Regions from separate parts of the Homo sapiens genome. Here region 2 is linked to region 1. The links are contacts of gene promoters, found by promoter capture Hi-C in human tissues and cell types (Jung and others, 2019). All regions are on one chromosome and are shown on one strand. Each heading gives the region's core, a stretch centred on a gene start or on the middle of the fragment in contact. The rest is flanking DNA. Distances are from core to core; before and after follow the strand shown. Region 1 holds the start of UBXN6 (UBX domain protein 6). Region 2 overlaps EEF2 (eukaryotic translation elongation factor 2).

Region 1 (4,413 bases), core at 1,277-3,776:
GCATACTGAGAACTTTCTAATCACATGATCACCCCTACAATCTATAGAGAGTGTTATTCTTATCCCCATTTCATAGATAGGAGACTGGAGATCAGAAAGATTGAAGTTTGGGTTGCACTGTATTCTTCTTTTATTTATTTATTTTTTTACTTTATTTATTTATTTTTGAGACAGAGTCTCGCTCTGTCGCCCAGGCTGGAGTGCAGTGGTGCAATCTCAGCTCACTGCAACCTCTGTCTCCTGCGTTCAAGTGATTCTGCTGCCTCAGCTTCTCAAGTAGCTGGGATTACTGGCACACACCACCACACCCGGCTGATTTTTGTATTTTTAATAGAGACGGGGTTTTGCTATGTTGGCCAGGTCGGTCTTGAACTTCTGACCTTAAGTGATCCACCCGCCTTGACCTCCCAAAGTGCTGGGATTACAGGTGTGAGCCACCGCACCTGGCCCAATTCTTTTCCTTTTTTTTTTTTTTTTGAAACGGAGTCTTGCTCTGTTGCCCAGGCTGGAGCACAGTGGCATGATCTCGGCTCACTGTAAGCTCTGCCTCCTGGGTTCACGCCATTCTCCTGCCTCAGCCTCCCAAGTAGCTGGGACTACAGGCGCCCGCCACCAAGGCTGGCTAATTTTTTTAAAAATTATTTTCAGTAAAGACAGGGTTTCACCGTATTAGCCGGGATGGTCTCAATCTCCTGACCTCGTGATCCACCCGCCTCGGCCTTCCAAAGGGCTGGGATTACAGGCATGAGCCACCGTGCCTGGCCTTTTTTTCTTTTTTTAATAAGACAGGGTCTGGCTCTGTTGCCCAGGCTGGAGTGCAGTGGCGTGATCCTAGCTTACTGCAGCCTCCAATTCCTGGGCTAAAGCAATCCTCCCACCTTGGCCTCCCAAAATGTTGGGACTGCAGGCCTGAGCCACCCGTCCAACCCATGATATTTCAATTTCAGTCTTGGGGTGGGCTGTTTCCTCACCTGGAGGCTTCTCCTCCATCAGTCTCTGTGTATCTCATTCCAACTCCTTCTTTTTTGAGGCAGAGTCTCCCTCTGTTGCCCAGGCTGAAGTGCAATGGCGAGATCTCGGCTCACTGCAACCTCCACCTGCCGGGTTCAAGCGATTCTCCTGCCTCAGCCTCCCGAGTAGCTGGGATTACCGGTGCCCATAGAGACAGGCTTTCACCATGTTGGCCAGGCTGGTCTCAAACTCCTGACCTCAAGTGATCCGCCGGCCTCGGCCTCCCAAAGTGCTGGGATTAGAGGCATGAGCCACCACGTCTGACCCCCAACTCCCATTTTTTGAGGCTTGTTTTAACTGTCACTTTGTGTATCTTCTTTGTGGATTGCACAGACCAAAGTACGCCACTATTAACTGGTGTCCACCAAAGTGGATCCCCAATCCCCAGGTCCCAATTGGGTGCATTGGGTGCATCCTCTTTTTTTTTTTTTTTTTTTTTTTTTGAGACGGAGTCTCGCTCTGTCGCCCAGGCTGGAGTGCAGTGGTGAGATCTCGGCTCACTGCAAGCTCCGCCTCGCGGGTTCACGCCATTCTCCTGCCTCAGCCTCCCGAGTAGCTGTGAGTACAGACGCCTGCCACCATGCCCGGCTAATTTTTTGTATTTTTAGTAGAGACGGGGTATCACCGTGTTAGCCAGGATGGTCTCGATCTCCTGACCTTGTGATCCGCCCGCTTCGGCCTCCCAAAGTGCTGGGATTACAGGCATGAGCCACCGCGCCCGGCCCAGGTGCATCCTCTTAAACAGCTCCTACCTAGGGTACGTGGTGATGGTGGCGGGGGGGTGCTTCAGGCACCAAAACAGGCCAGATCGTGGGGGCCTCCAATACCCAACATTGAATTGGGATTTTATCACGTAAGCTCTGGGGAGACAGAGAAGGTTGGAATTTTTTTTGTTTTGCTTGAGACAGGGTCTCTCTCTGTCGCCCAGGCTGGAATGCAGTGGCTTGATCACAGCTCACTGCAGCCTCGACCTCTTGGGTTCAAGCGATCCTCCCGCCTCTGCCTCCCAAGTAGCTGAGAGGCGCGCGCCACCACCCTCGGCTAATTTATTTTATTTTATTTTTTTTTTTTTTATAGAGACGAGGTTTTGCCATGTTGCCAGGCTGGTCTCCAACTTCTGGGATCAAGCAATCCTTCCGCTTGAGCCTCCAAAGTGCTGTGATTGCAGGCGTGAGCCACCGCGCCTAGTTTAGGTTGAGCAGCGAAAGGGATAGGGCCCAGTGCTTTCTCTGCGAGGTTCAGTTGGCCTGTCCCTGTCCTATCACCGTTTGTCACCGTTTGGGGAGCGCCACGGAATGCCCTGTCTCCAATCGAGAGGTGCACTCGTCGCCCTGGCAACGGAGTCCGGAAGAACCACAGAGACGCGGCTCCAGCGTACAGAGCGGCCGCCCTGGGCCAGCAAGGCACCGAGCGCTAGAGAGGCACGTCTAGTCGATTGTCACGTGGCAGGCCAGGGGAAGGCGGGACTTCCGGCGGCGAGGTAAATTTTTTTTTTTTTTTTTTTTTTTTTTTTAATTTTCTTCCGGTGGCTGGTCTCCGGCGGCCCCGTCCCCGACTGGGCCCCGTGCCCCCCCGCCCCCGCGGCCCCCCGCCGCCGGGCCAGCCGCCACCATGAAGAAATTCTTTCAGGAGTTCAAGGCCGACATCAAGTTCAAGAGCGCGGGACCCGGTCAGAAGCTCAAAGAGTCCGTGGGGTGCGTGAGGAACGCAGGGGCTTGAGGCCCTGCGGGGCGGGGACGGCCGGGGAGAGAGATCTGGGGCCTTGGGCGGCTCGGGAGATCGGAGAGGATGAGGGGCTGGGAGCGGCACGCGAGGGTCAGGGGAGGGGGAGAGGCGCCGGGGGCGGACGAAGTCGGGCCGAGGGTGGGCGTCAGGGGGAGGGGAGAGAGATCTGGGGGCGGGGCAGGAGGGGGCGGGTATGACCCGGGGGCGCGGCGGGGGAGGCGAGGGGAGGGGAACTAGCGCAGGGGGCGGGGCGGGAGGGGAGGTCTCGGGGGCGGGGCCGCAGGAGGGTCCGATGCAGTGGCGGGGGATTAGGGCGACGGGGCTGTAGGCAGTTGGGGGTCAGTGGAACGACCTTTGGGGAAAAACGGGATCATGAGTCCTGAGCCGGGTGGTGAGGGAGAGCTCTGTCTGGGGACCCGGCTGGCCGAAGAGGCCGGGATGATTTGGGGCAATCTAGGTGACCATGGATGGGAGCTGAGCTTGGAGGAGGACGCACAGCTGTGGGGTGGGGTGGTGAAGAGTTGTTTTGAGGTATCCATGGGAAGAGGGGTTCTGGATTTGGTATCTGGAGCACGTGGGAGGCTGATGGGAGACTAGAAAGAGTCTGGAAGGCCAGGGAGGCCGGGGTGGGCAGCGTCGTCAGTGACCTGGGATGTCCTGGCGAATTGAGAGGGAGGGGCTGAGGAAGGTGTGTGAGGAGAGTGGAGGTGAGGGATTCTGACAGATGGACTCTTACCCGGGAGGGGCCTGAGAGGAGAAGACGGGTGAGACAGACGCGTCTTAGCAGGCTGGGAGAAAGAGCTTCTCTGCGAGGCTTCTCTGCCACGTCACTGTGCCAAGTGGATTATGGAAGTGGGAGAGGAGGGGAAAGGAGATAGATGCCGGGCAGGCTTCCGGATTGTCTAGGGAGGACTTGGAGAGAAGGGCCTGAGCAGGGCTGAGCCAGCTGGGAGGGCCGGGGAAGAAGTGGAGCTAGGGAAGGTGCAAGGCTGAGGGCTGTTGGGTTGAGAAAAGGGAAACTGGAGAGCTGGGGCCGCTGCAGGGAGCTGGCTGGCCAGAGGGTGGTGGGGACTGATGGAGAGGGACTGAGGAAGTCAGCCAGGCAGCCAGGACACGGGTCTGTAAGCAATAGTGGAAGGGATTGTGAGGGAGTGGGGGCTGGGAGAGGCAGGGAGGTGGCAGGAAGTGGGGGTCAGGAATCACGGGGCAGTGGGGTGGTGATGGAGGTAGGGGCATAGTGAGGACGTCAGGGTTCCTGGGGGAGAGCAGGAGAGCAAAGGCTGAGTGAGGGAGGGAGAGGGGTCAGGGAGAGAAGGGGGCAAATCGGGGGAGCCCTTCATTGATTCAACCAATAGTGGGTGGGGGGTGCTGGGGCCACTGGGACTGGGCATGATAGGAAGGATGCAGGGTATCGGGGTGATGGCTGGATCAGCCCAGAGCCTGGGCGGAGAGGGGAAGGTTGGAGGGGAAGGTTGGGAAAGGAAGCGGTGCGGAGGTCCCTTGTGGAGCGAGACTGCATATCCAGGGTGTGTGGGGTGGGTGGGCACCAAGTCCTGTTTTAGGCTGCAGTGGTGGACAGGAGAAGGCCTCTGCTGTCCCAGGGCTCACCTTCTAGAGGGAGCCGATGGACAAATAAACCAACAGACCTTGGATGAGCGCTCAGGCGATGAGTGCTTG
Region 2 (4,413 bases), core at 1,262-3,761, 480 kb after region 1:
GGACTGGAAGTGTGTTTTTGCCAGGAATGTTGGGTGACAGAGAAGGGGGCTGGAATGTTTTCATCCGACTTGACCCAGCCCTTGATCTTTGGGCAGCTGGAAGAGACGAGCTCAGGGAACGCTGCCCTGGGTGGTGGAGGGGCTGGCCCCCCTATTCGTGATGACTGATCATTTCTTCACTTTGACCAGATGTCTACTGAAGAAAGCCTGCGTCTGAGGCCCATGCCCAAGGCGCCCAGCCCGTAGCTTCAGGCTCTGCGCAGGGGCCCTCACGGCTGCTTCTCGTTTCTCACACTTCCAGATCGATCCTGTCCTCGGTACCGTGGGCTTTGGGTCTGGCCTCCACGGGTGGGCCTTCACCCTGAAGCAGTTTGCCGAGATGTATGTGGCCAAGTTCGCCGCCAAGGGGGAGGGCCAGTTGGGGCCTGCCGAGCGGGCCAAGAAAGTAGAGGACATGATGAAGAAGCTGTGGGGTGACAGGTGAGCCCCGCGGGATATGGTGGGGGATTCCTGACACCTGGGGGTAGTGGCAGCGACGTAGGGGCGTGGTGTGCTATTCACAGCGTGGCTCAAGCCCACCAGGTCTTGCCCAAGCATGTCCCCTTGGCGACCACCCTCCCCAAGTCATCCCCTGGAGACCCTAACTTGATTTGGCTTGGCCTCTCCTTGCCAGGTACTTTGACCCAGCCAACGGCAAGTTCAGCAAGTCAGCCACCAGCCCCGAAGGGAAGAAGCTGCCACGCACCTTCTGCCAGCTGATCCTGGACCCCATCTTCAAGGTGAGTGAGGGCTGCGCCAGGCACCCCGCCGATGCGACTATTGGCCCTCGGCCCTGTGGGCTCCGGCCGGTAGCCTGTCGGCTGACTGGGCCCGTCTCCTTGTGGGGCAGATGCGAGATGGGAGGAGGCACAGCTCCTAACTGAGGTGGAGTCAGGGCTCCTCTCTTAAGATCTGGACTGCATAGCCAGAGCCTTGGGACCTCTCCTGCATTGAGGGGGTTGAATAACTTGTGGCTTTGGCGGTTCAGTGCTTGTAAGTCAGAACTTGGGTCCTTGTCTGAGTCAGAGTGGGCTTTTTCCTCTGCTCCACCACGAGGTTTCCTCCAGCTCCCGATCCGCTCAGCTGGCTGGGCCCGTGGTAGGCAGGCCAGGCCTGCTCCTGCTCCCGTGCTGCGTCCCCCTGCGCTGACCTGAGTCTTCCAAGCAGGAAGCAGTGCCAGGCTTCCTCCTGCTGTTCCCAAATGGGCTTTCTTGTTTCTTGGTGGGGAATGTAGGTGTTTGATGCGATCATGAATTTCAAGAAAGAGGAGACAGCAAAACTGATAGAGAAACTGGACATCAAACTGGACAGCGAGGACAAGGACAAAGAAGGCAAACCCCTGCTGAAGGTGCGGCCTGGGCCCAGCCCTCGGGGTGGAGGGAACACAGGCTGCTGTTTCCGGATGCTCTGACAGCCCAGGCCTGGGGGCTGAAGTCCTCAGCTGGGCAGGGACAGCTGCTGCCCCTTTCGCTTTAGACTCTGGGTGCTGCTGGAGACACATCCCAGCAGCCAGCCCCATCCGGGACAGGTGTGGGTGAGGGCCTTGGCAGGAGTGTGCATGGCCTTTGCCGCCTTCCAGAAGGGACTGTGCTTTGGAGAACGTTAGTCCTGACTTTGGCTTCCTTGGCTTCAAGAGAGGAAGCGTGTACGGGGTGGGGCCATCCTGGGCTCCCCAGGTGTCTCATGCACCGCTCTCTGCCCCCGCAGGCTGTGATGCGCCGCTGGCTGCCTGCCGGAGACGCCTTGTTGCAGATGATCACCATCCACCTGCCCTCCCCTGTGACGGCCCAGAAGTACCGCTGCGAGCTCCTGTACGAGGGGCCCCCGGACGACGAGGCTGCCATGGGTACGTGGTCCCGGTGGCCGGGCCCTGAGATGCAGCCGGATGACTTCCTGTTGCCCAAGGTTGTGGGTTGCAGGGTTCCAGAAGGCTGAGCTGCACTGGAATAAAGCTTGCGGGTTTTCTCTGTCCCTCAGGCATTAAAAGCTGTGACCCCAAAGGCCCTCTTATGATGTATATTTCCAAAATGGTGCCAACCTCCGACAAAGGTCGGTTCTACGCCTTTGGACGAGTCTTCTCGGGGCTGGTCTCCACTGGCCTGAAGGTCAGGATCATGGGGCCCAACTATACCCCTGGGAAGAAGGAGGACCTCTACCTGAAGCCAATCCAGAGGTGAGCAGCTGGGTGATGTGCAGGCCCCTTGGCACTGTTGCGGGCCCTGCCCTGCTCCAAGTCTTGGGCTCCTCAGTCGGGAGCTAGAAGTAAGGAGCATAGAAGGAATATAGGGTGATACTTGTGCCAGCCACAACTTTTGTTCTTAGCCCAGTGAGGGCATTTCTGGAGAAGCTCCAAGCCCCAGGGCACAGCACACCCCTGCTCATCTGTGTCCCTGGGCACAGGTGGGTGGCGGCCGTCGACCCATACCCAGGGAGGAGGGCAGTGATTCTGAAGAGGATGTTTCCTGACAGCCCCGACGCAGCAGTCAGGGCCTTGTGGAAGCCACCAGTCTGCCCTGGGACCTGGCAGGAGGGCCACCAACTCCGGGAGGGACCTGCCCTGGCCCTCCAGGGTCCAGCACAACCATCCCTGCGGCCTGCTGCCGCCTTCTGCTTCTTCCAGAACAATCTTGATGATGGGCCGCTACGTGGAGCCCATCGAGGATGTGCCTTGTGGGAACATTGTGGGCCTCGTGGGCGTGGACCAGTTCCTGGTGAAGACGGGCACCATCACCACCTTCGAGCACGCGCACAACATGCGGGTGATGAAGTTCAGCGTCAGCCCTGTTGTCAGAGTGGCCGTGGAGGCCAAGAACCCGGCTGACCTGCCCAAGCTGGTGGAGGGGCTGAAGCGGCTGGCCAAGTCCGACCCCATGGTGCAGGTGGGCACGGAGTGCACCTGCTGGGAGCAGACACCCTGAGGGGGGACGGCTTGTGTCCTGAGTTGTGGCTGTGTGGGTTGCTGTGGTTGGTGGATTGGGGTGACTGGTCATGAAAGGAGGGGTTCTTGGCTGTGGCTGTAAATGGAGACTCCTGCCCAGGCAGCCACCACCCTCTCCTAGGCTGCTCTGCGCGTGTTCACTGTAGCTTGTGGGACTTAACATTTCTTCAGGAGTTTGTGCTGGTCCCAGTTTCCCAGCACCTTCCCTGAAATCTTGTTCTGGCGGGGTCCCTAGCTAAAGGGAAGCTGGGAGCCTGGTCCCGCCTGTTCCGAGCCGCCTACCCCTTTGGTGCTGACCCGCATCCCTTTCAGTGCATCATCGAGGAGTCGGGAGAGCATATCATCGCGGGCGCCGGCGAGCTGCACCTGGAGATCTGCCTGAAGGACCTGGAGGAGGACCACGCCTGCATCCCCATCAAGGTGAGGCGCCAGTGACCAGCCTTCCCCACGCCCCACCCCGGACACCTGCCCTCTGCTTTAAAGCTGAGCTGAGCTAGGCTCTGCAGACGCCTAGACTTGATCTCGGTCTTGGTCTCAGCTTCTTAAGTTCCTCAAGTTTCTTCTTTGCAGTCTTCCACAGGCATGTGGGGCTGTTTTTGTTGTTGTTGTTGTTTTTTTTGAGATAGTCTCGCTGTGTCATCCAGGCTGGAGTGCAGTGGCGTGATCTTGGCTCGCTAGAACCTCCACCTCCCGGGTTCAAGCGATTCTCTTGCCTCACTCAGCTTCCTGAGTAACTGGGACTACAGGCGCGTGCTACCACGCCCGGCTAATTTTTTTTTGTATTTTTAGTAGAGGCGGGGTTTCACTGTGTTAGTAAGTCAAGATGGTCTCGATCTCCTGACCTCGTGATCCCCCTGCCTCGGCCTCCCAAAGTGCTGGGATTACAGGTGTGAGCCACCATGCCTGGCCCAGGGCTATTTTTTTTTTTTTTTTTTTTTTTTTTTTGAGACAAGAGTCTTGCTCTGTTGCTTAGGCTGGAGTGCAATGGCGTGATCTTGGCTCACTGCAAGCTCTGCTTCCCAGGTTCACGCCATTCTCCTGCCTCAGCCTCCTGTAGCTGGGACTTCAGGCGCCTGCCATCATGCCCGGCTAATTTTTTGCATTTTTAGTAGAGACGGGGTTTCACCGTGTTAGCCAGGATGGTCTGGATCTCCTGACCTCGTGATCCACCCGCCTCGGCCTCCCAAAGTGCTGGGATTACAGGCGTGAGCCACCACGCCCGGCCTCCGGGGCAGTTTTTGAGTTACATCCTGCTGTCTTCTGTCCACAAACAACACAAATGCTCTGGAGGGGTTGGGACAGGCCTGCTCCAGACCTCGTTTCTTCCCTGTTAATGCTTAAAATTCCACAAGCCCGTGGTTTCTGCGCCGGAGAGCTCAGTGGAGCCCCTGCTCCTTGTCCTTGTCTGGAGTGAGATGCGCTTGGCACTGCAACAC

Evidence for each region. Contacts are between HindIII fragments. The study calls those that stand out against the background at their distance.
Region 2: a contact is called between a fragment that was not itself captured here and the fragment with the promoter of UBXN6 in region 1, in 1 of the 25 tissues and cell types used here (dorsolateral prefrontal cortex).

The regions. Positions count from the first base shown.
Region 1 is chr19:4,455,907-4,460,319 of GRCh38, reverse strand. UBXN6 (UBX domain protein 6) reads left to right here and starts at 2,526. Exons shown (of 11, transcript NM_025241.3): 1 at 2,526-2,705. The coding sequence starts at 2,623. RefSeq lists an enhancer at 2,265-2,464 and silencers at 2,575-2,624, 2,655-2,724. The HindIII fragment of the contact is 9,046 bases long and covers 1-4,413 here.
Region 2 is chr19:3,978,313-3,982,725 of GRCh38, reverse strand. It overlaps EEF2 (eukaryotic translation elongation factor 2), which reads left to right. Exons shown (of 15, transcript NM_001961.4): 5 at 302-480; 6 at 674-779; 7 at 1,274-1,387; 8 at 1,747-1,885; 9 at 2,017-2,212; 10 at 2,660-2,918; 11 at 3,290-3,397. SNORD37 (small nucleolar RNA, C/D box 37) reads left to right here and starts at 154; the gene lies at 154-219. RefSeq lists an enhancer at 402-1,253. The HindIII fragment of the contact is 5,039 bases long and covers 1-4,413 here.